2 separate regions of the Homo sapiens genome follow, and region 1 is linked to region 2. Evidence: promoter capture Hi-C in human tissues and cell types (Jung and others, 2019). All regions are on one chromosome and are shown on one strand. Each heading gives the region's core, a stretch centred on a gene start or on the middle of the fragment in contact. The rest is flanking DNA. Distances are from core to core; before and after follow the strand shown.

Region 1 (5,486 bases), core at 2,761-5,260, 260 kb before region 2:
CTAGCTGCTCTCTGAGTAGTGGCAAGAAGAGGAAATTGATCTTGTCCTAGTCCCTATTTTGAGAGATTGGTCTCTAAAGCCTCTCATTGCTGCAAGGAAAATCCTAGATTTAACAGATGGATTGGATGAAAAAGAAGAATCCATAGCATGACTTTGAAAGTCTTAGGCATAAAAGATATGACAGTACCTGGACTCTAGAACCAGGTTGCTTGTATTTGAAGTTAATCTCTGTCATTTAACGAGCTGAGTGACCTTGGGGAATTTTCTTAGCCTCTCTGTGCCTCCCCTGTAAAATGTGTACCTACCTTATAGAGTTAGGAAGACAAAACGCAAAAGCTCTCAGCACAATGCCTGGTACGAGGCATGTGCTAGTCCAATATTAACTCTTATTAACATTAGTAATCTTCAAAGCTTCCCTCAATCTCAATCATAGGACCATGAATTCACTCAGTAGACACTGACTGATCATGTTCTACGTCTTAACAACTTGGTAAGCTAATAGCTGACTATAGATATATGTAGATAATTTTGTGGATCTGTGGATATATAGATATTTTAAACTCTCCTATGCAGTTACTCCAAGGAAGAGACTGTCAACAATGGATGATACAGTTTCTCATTTTTTGCTTTGCCCAGGGAGCCAGCGGGGAGTGCCATTGGTGAAGGCAGACATACCATCCACTGTGTGGGTGAAGGAAACTCTGGCCAGCAGAGATCCAGGAGGAGGCACCCAGCAATGGAATGCAAGGCACCAGGGATTCTGTGCAGGAGCAGCAAGAGTATCTCCTGGGGAGCCTGGGAGGTTCTGAGCCCTGGACTGAAGGGCAGCCTGAAACCTCAAGAGACCACAGTAATATTACCATCTCCATCAGAACTAACCCTTGCTAAATGCTGATGTGCACAGGGCCCGGTGCCAGGTGCTGCCTATCAGAAATCTGAGCTACCTATTTGCAAAAACCTTCATAGTATTGATTGCTGCTGGCTGTGGAGATAGCAAGGGGGAAATGACCAAAGAGGTTAACACAAGGGCTTCGGAGATATTGATAATGTCTTTTTAAAATTATTATTATTATTTTAAAAGTTTCTGAAATAGAGAAGGGGTCTTGCTATGTTGCCCAGGCTGGTCTTGAACTCCCGAGCTCAAGCCATCTGCCTGCCGTGGCCTCTCAAAGTGCTAGGATTGTAGGCGTGAGCCACCATGCCTAGCCGATATTGATAATGTTTTATTTCTTAAGCTGGATAATACCCGCACTGGGTTTTGTTTCAGTATTCTCATAGCCCACACACATATATATTAGATATACCCTTATAAGTGTACATATTTATAAGTATATGTTTTGGCTGCAAAGATAAATACCAAAATTACAGTGACTTAAACAAGTTAAAGTTATTTATCTTTCATGGAACAGTCTGAGACTAAGTGATCTTTTTCTAAAGCTCTATGATGTCACAGACTGACACCCTCTACTGCAACTTTGTGCAATATGTGGCTTCTGTCTCATTGTGGCTGATCCAGTGCCTGCCATCACGTCTAAATTCTAGCCAGTAGTTTGAGCAAAGGTTAGAGGAAAAGCATGTTTCTTTGCTTTTAAGAGAATGACCCAGAAGTTATTTATTTATTTATTTATTTTTTTGGAGGCAAGAGTCTCACTCCGTCACCCAGGCTAGAGTGCAGTGGTATGATTTCAGCTCACTGCAATCTCCGCTTCCCAGTTTCAAGTGATTCTCGTGCCTCAGCCTCTGGAGTAGCTGGGATTACAGGTGCATGCCACCATGCGCAGCTAATTTTTGTATTTTTAGTAGAGACAGGTTTCTTCATGTTGGCCAGGCTGATATCGAACTCCTGGCTTCAAGTGATCCACTGGCCTCGGCCTCCCAAAGTGCTGGGATTGCAGTCGTGAGCCACCGCACCTGGCCCAGAAGTTACAATTCTATCTCACATCCCACTGTCTAGAACCTGGTCTCTTAGCCCCCCTTAATTGCAAAAAAATCTGAGAAATGTAGTTTTTAGCTGGGCAACAACTGATAGAGCTAAAACATCTTTTCCTGTATAAAAAGGAGGGGCCGGGCATGGTGGCTTATGCCTGTAATCCCAGCACTTTGAGAGGCCGAGGCGGGTGAATCACAAGGTCAGGAGATCGAGACCAGCCATGGTCAACATGGTGAAACCCTGTCTCTACTAAAAATACAAAAATTAGCTGGGCGTGGTGGTGGGCACCTTGAATCCCAGCTACTCAGGAGGCTGAGGCAGAAGAATCGCTTCAACCCAGGAGGCAGAGGTTGCACTGAGCTGACATCATGCCACAGTACTCAGGTCTGTGACAGAGCGAGACTCCATCCCAAAAAATAAAATAAAAAGGAGAGCAAATATTAGAGGGCAGAGAGCAGCCTCTGCTACAAATATATAAAAATATATAGGTGATTAATTTAAAGAGCTGAAAGTAAAAACTATACTTCCCAGTGCATTAACTATGAACTTATTTATTTAAAAATCATTATAGGCTTGCCCTGGCACAGTGGCTCACACCTGTAATCCCAGCAGTTTGGGAGGCCAAGGCGGACGGATCACCTGAGGTCAGGAATTCAAGACCAACTTGGGCAACATGGTGAAACCTCGTTTCTACTAAAAATACAAAAAAAAATTAGCCAGGCAGGGAGGTGCATGCTTGTAATCCCAGCTACTCTGGAGACTGAGGCATGAGAATCGTTTGAACCCGGGAGGCAGGGGTTTCATTGAGCCGAGATCCCACCATTGCACTCCAGCCTGGGTGACAGAGCAAGACCCCATCTCAAAAAAAAAAAAAAAAAAATTATAGTCTTAAAGGAGAGTCAATAGAGAACAGAGAAGCAAACTATAAACATTGGAAGTTACTGCTAATTTATAACTAGTTTGAAATGAAGAATTAAAAGCTGTAGTGTAAATCAACCAGAAAGTGATTTGATTTTTTTTTCTTCACTCAGGGTGGCCTTGAATAATTTGGATTTCAAAAATGCTACATGCCCACAACTCTTCAGAAACATAACTAGCACTTAAAGCTGGGAGACCTCTTGTATGTCGAAGTTAAATTGGTTCTGGACTATTCATGAGTATTGGTGCCAGGGACATGAGGTGATTATGTACGAACAAAACCCACTGTTCCTCTTCTAAATTGTCAGGCGAGATCTCGTGGAGGAGGTAGAATCTCAGGGACTGGTGGAATAGGAAAGGAGGAAGGCTGAATTTCTTTCTTTTTCTTTTTTTTTTTTTTTGAGATGGAGTTTTGCTCTTTCACCCAGGCTGGAGTGAAGTGGTGCGATCTCGGCTCACTGCAACCTCCACCCCTGGGTTCAAGCGATTCTCCTGCCTCAGCCTCCTGAGTAGCTGGGATTACAGGCGTGTGCCACCACGCCCTGCTAATTTTTACATTTTTAGAAAGAGAGGGTTTCGCCATGTTTGCCAGGCTGGTCTTGAACTCCTGACCTCAGGGGATCCACCTGCCTCGGCCTCCCAAAGTGCTGGGATTACAGGCGTGAGCCATTGTGCCCAGCTGGGAGCTTGAATTTCTATTCAGCCCTAGAGCAGTGCGTGAGAGAAGGCTTGAGGGAGAAGAGAAGCCATAGGTGGGACAGGAAGGAGGGTCAAGTGAGGTGCAGGTGCCAGGATTTTGAAAGTAGAGAATGAAGACTATTAAATAGTGAGTAGAAAGTCTGATGCCAGTTAGAGAATTCATTTACAGTTCCAATGTGAGGGGACAGCCCTCAAGCACCTGCTTCCCAAGAGACCTACAGCAGTCTAAGTAAAAGGTTGCCAGGGCCTGGGGAGAGTGTGCCACAGGCCCAAAGACAGTGAGGGTATTATTGTAAGTGAAAGCAATCAACAATGCCCTGGGATGTGGCAATAGGTTGTGATGCTGGTGAGTGGGAATTACTATTTGATGGCATATCAACGAGGCTGGTGATATCATGTCTCAACATCAGAGAAGTGAGTGGCAAGGTTATGGGGAGTGTGCTATATATTTTCATGTACCATTCATTCAACAAATACGTATGACATGCCTGCTATGGGCCAGGCTCTGTTCTGGGCTCTGGGGAAACTGTGATGAACAGAACAGACAAAAATTCCAGTTTTCTTGAGCTTACATTCTTTTTTATTTTTATTTTTTTTAGAGACGGAGTCTCGCTCTGTCGCCCAGGCTGGAGTGCAGTGGCACGATCTCGGCTCACTGCAACCTCCGCCTCCCGGGTTCACGCCATTCTCCTGCCTCAGCCTCCCGAGCAGCTGGGACCACAGGTGCCTGTCACCACGCCTGACTAATTTTTTGTATTTTTAGTAGAGATGGGGTTTCACCATGCTAGCCAGGATGGTCTCGATCTCCTGACCTCATGATCAGCCTGCCTCGGCCTCCCAGAGTGCTGGGATTACAGGCGTGAGCCACCGTGCCCGGCCGTTTTGAGCTGACATTCTAGTGTTCCAGCCTAATTTTATTATTTTGGGTTCCACTTTAATGCCCCAAATCTAATTACAATTTACTTTAGCAGATTCAGTCATGACTTGGCCCTCATAGCATGCAACAGTGATCTCTCTGTCTGAAGAGGTTTTCATCCTTGAGGTCAATTTTCCAGTGAATACACTTGGAGGTTTGATCATTTCTTTCTCATTGACACTCCTTATCTTTTGTTCTAAAAGGCATATTTTTGCATCTACATTTTTAGTATAATTTTATAGTTAAAAGATCTTTGGCTGCATTAGAATCCTGCCAACCTCTCTGCTTTCTTGCTGGCACTTCACACTAAGGCTCCAGTTAATTATCTTTGCTGCTTCTCACTTCCTAAACCTTGTCTGATTAAGTCATTTCTCAAAACTCAGTCAGGTGAGTTTTACGACTGCTCCAGGAAGCCTTCTCTGGTTGCACTCCAACAGTCCCCTGATTTCTCTCTACAGTGGCACTTGCCACCTGGTGTGACGATTTTCTGTAATCTTGTCTGTCTCTCCTGCTTATCTGGGAGCAGCTTGAGGGCAGGGCATTGTCAAGCATCTTTGCTTCCCTAGTACCCACCATAGTGTTTGTCTCAGCAGGATCAAGGAGTTTGACCAAATAAAACAAACACAAACTTACTTGCACTATCACCTAGGGACAGACAGGGTGAGTTGATGATTGCAAATAATTCCCTATAGGAAATGTCTGATATTCTTGAAAGCTTTTTCTCGTCTTTTCTTTTTAGTTTTGATCACCCTCCTACCTCACTTCTTTGAGGCCTTGGTACCTCCTCTCTTCCCCTTAAAAAGTGGCCTGAAATAGAAGTTTGTGTTTTTGCTTATTTATCAAACATCTCAAAAACCCTGTATGGTGAGCCAAACACTCTTCTAAGCATTTTATAAATATTAATTCATTTAATCTTCATGAAAATCATATATATATATTTTTTTTGAGAAGGGTCTTGCTCTGTTGCCCAGGCTGGAGTGCAGTGGCGCAATCTCAGCTCACTGCAACCTCCACCTCCCGGGT
Region 2 (5,336 bases), core at 2,775-5,274:
GTGCTATAACTTTGGAAGTATCTAGAAATGCAAGACTGTGGAAATGGATGCCTGGCTCAATATAAAATTCCTCTAGAAAGAGTTCTGTGGATATGATACATAGACAGAAATCCAGAAAAATCTCCTTAATCTTGCAATTCCCACCTAACTTCCATTCTGGGAGTGAGATATGCTACCCAGTTGTGAAAATAATACATGTCTTTTCTGATTAGAAGTTCTTCCTTGATACCTTGGATAAATAGTATTCAACAGTGAAGGAAGAAACCACTAGGCTTACCATTCTATTTTTCTCTCACTGGAAGGAAGGCAAGAGGCCTAGTATTAAAAAAATCACCAGGAGTTAAATTTTTCCACTAGCAAATAGGGCTTTAACAGAACAGAAGCATAAAGTAGCTGAGGATAGTGGTGGTTCAAGGGAAGACGGAAAATGTATAGGAAGCCCCAGTGTACAATAAGGGCACCTCATGTCTCAAATAGTTACTTTTCTTTTATTTTATTACATTCAAGCAGAGACTGGAGTGGCATTAACTGCTAGGGGAGGCATGTGAGCTAGGATGCTTTTTAAAAGTGAGGGCAGGTTGTCCCCAAAAGAAGCAATGGCTTGGTGGCCCAGCTTGCATGAAGGACTAATCCAAAATTTGAGGGCGTCTCTCAGGGAACACGATACATTTCATCTTTTAACAGAATTCCAGAGAAGAGAGCTCAATCAGAGATCAAATTCACCAACTGCAATTAAGCACTATCTTAGATTTACTCCTTCCCCTTGCCACAGCAAGAGAAAAGCAGAACATAAAACTAAAACTATTAGAACACCAACAGAGGTAAAGGTTGGGAAAGAAGTCAGGAGAAACTGATCTATATAATTCTGGGGCAAGTAAAAGTTCTGGATAAAGTTGTTCCCACCAAATAAAAATAAAACAAAAGAAATAACAACACAATTATGTAATGATATGATGACAAACATAGGAAGAAATTAGCTTAGGGAAGACGAAGGGAAGGAAAGGGAGGGCGAAGAAACCATTCTTGAGGAAAACAGAGGAAACACGAATACTTTCTGCTATAAATGTTTTACACTCTCAAAGTACTGAAAGAGGATATAAAATCTATAAGACAGGAGATCCAAGATCATCTTGGTTTAAAGTGAAATATTCTAACAGTTACATAGTATTCTACCTTCCCACCTGTGCATATTTATATATTTCTTTTTTTAAATTTTTTAAATTTTTTTAATCAACTAAAACTTATTTAAGCATAAAGTTACTTTCACATTTGTCTACAACCACAGTAAATACAGTTCTTGACATAAAGACAATTTAAAGCCTCCCCACCTGCAAGATTACATATATAAAGCTCCCACCATTCTTTATATAATAGTGGATTAATCAAATTAAAAGTTATACTATCTAGAATAAAATAAAATGAAATAATTTACTCATAAGATTCATATTTAAATCATCCTCATTTACAAAATACTATCCTGGGAATTATAGTTCCATTAAGTTTCAATCTGAACAAAAGTGTAATCACTTAAGTAACAGCAGTTACTTAAACTGAAAATGAGATCAGTCAAAATTACTTTTGAAGAGGGCAAACATGTTGTTAGGTTTCTTGCTGTCGTTCTGGATGTTCAGCAGCAGGCTCATTTGAAGTCGGACTCAACCCTGATGGAAACTCATTCTACCTTCAGAATGTGGGGGCTGGGGGGAAAAATGCAGGTCTTGGGGGACGGTAAGGAAGAAAACCTCTCGGTAAATAGACATTTCTCATTGCAAATGGAGCACGTGGTGGACCTGGGACATCCCTTGGAGAAAAATAATCTGGAGAAGCTCCAAACACGGTTCCTGGAGGAGGTGGGGGGAAAGGAGGTCCTCTTCTTATGAACGGGCCCCTTGTATCTACTGGAAACAATAAACCTCTGATTGGAGCAAGAGGTGGAGGAACAAAGCCAGGGCCAGTTGCTTCATTTTCAGCGGGGAGAGATGAATCAGGCACCTTTAAATTACCAAGATTATCTTTGGTATCATTTCTACTGGATTCCATTTCTGAAGGCATTGACCCATCCATTTTATCCAAAGAAGGCATATTAAAACTTCTGAGTTCTGCTGGTCCAGAGAGTCTAGCACAATTAGAATAAAATCTGTCTTGCCTTTGTGGAGGGAGAGCTGAATCAGGATATGATTGTCCTGGTGGAGGAAACATCATCCTATAGTCCTGTTCCCACGGAGGTGCCAGGGGCCCAGCGTCAGAAGGAGCCCTGTGAGGATCAGTTAACCTATCACAGCTTGATTCTCCTCTTTCTTTGGTAATCTGATGGTCCGGAGGATTCCCTGGGCCTCTGGAGCCTCTTCCTCCTCCCCGTGGAAGCAAAGGTGAGAGTCTGAGAGGACCTTCCAACAAAGTTGGAGGATAGAGAGAAGCTCTCGTTTCAGATGAAGGCCAACCCAATGGTGAGGGACCATATGGGGAATGCTGTCTGCCAAATGCTGTATTTGGAACATCAAGTCCATAAGGATCTTTTTCTAAAAGTTTTATTTTAAACTCTATTTCAGTTAATTTTTGTCTGTTGTGAGCATTTTCTTTCCTTAAATCATTGAGGTTTCTTTCAGCAGTCCAAGCTGCCGACCAATTATCATGTGCTTTTTTCTCATGGAGAATAATCTTCTTTTGATAAAAATGAATAGTTTTCTCAAATTCTTTAAGATCTTTGGCTCGCTTTCGGTAGGTCTCCAGCTCTTCAGTGGCATGGCTGATCATTTCGTCTACTTTAGAAAGTTTCTCTTCTTTCTCTAACCGGCATTTTTCCTCTACTATTAATTTCCTGTAGAGTTTCATTTCATTTTCTTGATATAATTCAGTCATTACTTTAAGTTTCTGCTGAAGCTTCTGATTCTCACTTTCAAAATGTGTGTTTTCTGACTGCAAAGATGCTTGTTCAGTCTGAAGATTTTTAATATGCTCTGTAAGCTCTTCCTTTGTTTTATCAACTTCAGATAATTGAATATAAATTTGGTTTCTTTCTCCTTCTAAGGTTTTTAAGGAAGCATTTAACTTAGCAGCATGAATCAGTTTCTTCAAAGCTCCTTTTGGAGGATTATCTAAGTAAGCACCATCTTCCGATTCACTGTTCATTTCTAATTCCAAGTTATCATCATCCGTTACATCTTCTTCAAGCATAGCAACCCCATCTTTCATCTTTAGCAAGCGTTCAGTCAGAGTCTTGATGTGATTTTCTTTATCATTTAGAACTTGTTCTGCATGTACTTTGGAGTCTTCAAATGTTCTTTTCTGTTTAATAAGTTCACTCACTTGTTCTTTCCATACTTCAGCTTCTTGCAAAAGCTGTTTCTGGCTTTCCTGAAGTTCAGAATTTTCTTTCCAAGCATCTTGTATTTCTATCTCCAACCGTTCTTCATTCGCTTGAAATCTCTTGAAGGTCATTTTGGCTTCAGCTACTTGTGATTTGAGGGATTTTGACTCATCTTCTAGCGACTGTATCCTTTTGGAAATATCCGCCATCAATTCATTTTGTTCAGAATGTTTAGATTTCTCTTCTTTTAACTCTTTTTCTAGACAGAGTATTTCATGCACAAGTTCAGAATTGAACCTGTTCAGCTTTTCGCAGGTTGCCTCCAAACTTTGTGCTTCTGTTGCCTCCTTCTCAAAGCTGGCATTCTTTAAAGATGACTCTACTTCATAGCCTTCATACTCTTTTTGAACAAGGCTAAATTTTTCAAGTAGTTTACATTTTTCTTCAATTAGTCCAGAAAGTGCCACAGCAAACTTTTTCTCTCTTCTCACATAAAGCCGACTCGTAACTGATCTAAAACTTCTCCACAAGAAGAGAACAGCAAAAAATCCAGCAACAGCTGCACGTATCACCAATTCCCATGGAAAACCATAAGGATGAGAATCGGGTCTCATACCTTCAGTCAGTGCTGCCACAACCCTGCGTAGCAACTCCAGGACCAGCCCCAGGTATGGCTGAGGGTTAGCCCTAGGCTCCTCCGTAGCGCCAAGGCTGCTCTGGCGGTTGCTGCAGTAACCTCGGCCACAACAAACGCTGGAGAAGACGCAGCATTCCGTTTGGAACCTGAATCCCTAACGGGCAACCGGAGCGTACCACTGCGGAGCCGGCTGCGGGGGGAGTTAGGGGACGCGGGCACCCGTAGGCCTCACAGACCCACACTGCCCACCCCGGTACCTTTGTTACACTTTACATCCTGAGGAAGCGCTAAAACCTATATTTTAAAACAGTACCACATGGTGAGAAAGACTCAGGTGACCCAGCATCCCAGCTATGCCCATCCCAAGCTGACACCCTAGCTAAATGTAGCCTTGTGCATGACCCCAGGTGGGGCGGGCAGAAGAACCTCCCAGCTGACAGAATGATAAGGAATAACAAATCATTGTTTTAAGTCACTAAGCTTTGGGGTCATTTGTTATGCAGCAGTAGCTAACTGAAATACCTGCCCCCTTATCCCTTTGGTGTTTCAGTATCTGTGGCTGAAATAATGAATTTGGGTGCTTGACTAAGATTATGCCCTATGGTAAATTCTGATAGGTAATTTTATAGCTAAAATACAAATTTTCTGATTGACCTTTGCTTCATTGAAGAGATATTTATTTAGCTCCTCCCAAATGAGACAGATTATGCTTTTTAGATTAACTTCTTCCAGGAAAGGGCTCACCACTCCCTAGCATGAGCCTCAGCTGTCCCATGTACAACTGAAAAACGCTAATCTCATCCCCAGAAGATCCAGGACTCTTAGAACAGTGCTGGCACATAGAGAGTGATTCTCTTACCTGTCCATCAAACTTACCTGCTCTGTGTCCATTTCTGAAACACTGGCACTCCTTCAACACGGATGACGCCTTGCCCTGCAATAAGTCATCATCTCCCGCCCATGCACATATCTTCAACTCATCTGGAAAGCTTGCTCCTGCAGCAATGGGTATGCCCACTAGGTTATAAATCAGCGCCAGGACCAGTTTGATGCATATCCTCTGGACAGTCATCTTGGAAATATGAATGCTAGCCACCACATCCAGCAAATCATTTTTGATGAGGATGACGTTGGCTGCCTCGATGACCACATCCGTGCCAGTGCCAGTGGCAATGCCCAAGTCTGCCTGGGCCAAGGCCAGGGAATCATTGACCCCGTCCCCCACCATGGCGACTTTCTTCCCTTCATTCAGGAGCTCCTGAACCTTGGTCACCTTGTGTGAAGGCAACACCTCTGCAAAGACTTTGTTGATGCCAACCTGGGTGGCAAAGGCTCTGACTGTCTTCCAGTTGTCCCCCGTGATCAGAATCACGTTCACATGCATGCTTTGCA

What was found. Contacts are between HindIII fragments. The study calls those that stand out against the background at their distance.
Region 1: a fragment that was not itself captured here is called in contact with the fragment with the promoter of CTAGE1 in region 2 in 2 of the 25 tissues and cell types used here (H1 embryonic stem cells and thymus).

The regions. Positions count from the first base shown.
Region 1 is chr18:22,154,300-22,159,785 of GRCh38, forward strand. No RefSeq gene overlaps it. Among named protein-coding and RNA genes, the nearest start is that of GATA6-AS1, 12 kb to the right of the region's middle. The HindIII fragment of the contact is 8,115 bases long and covers 1-5,486 here.
Region 2 is chr18:22,413,891-22,419,226 of GRCh38, forward strand. It overlaps CTAGE1 (cutaneous T cell lymphoma-associated antigen 1), which reads right to left and starts at 4,025. Exons shown (of 1, transcript NM_172241.3): 1 at 1-4,025. The coding sequence starts at 3,921. The coding sequence ends at 1,684. It also overlaps the pseudogene ATP7BP1. The HindIII fragment of the contact is 3,989 bases long and covers 690-4,678 here.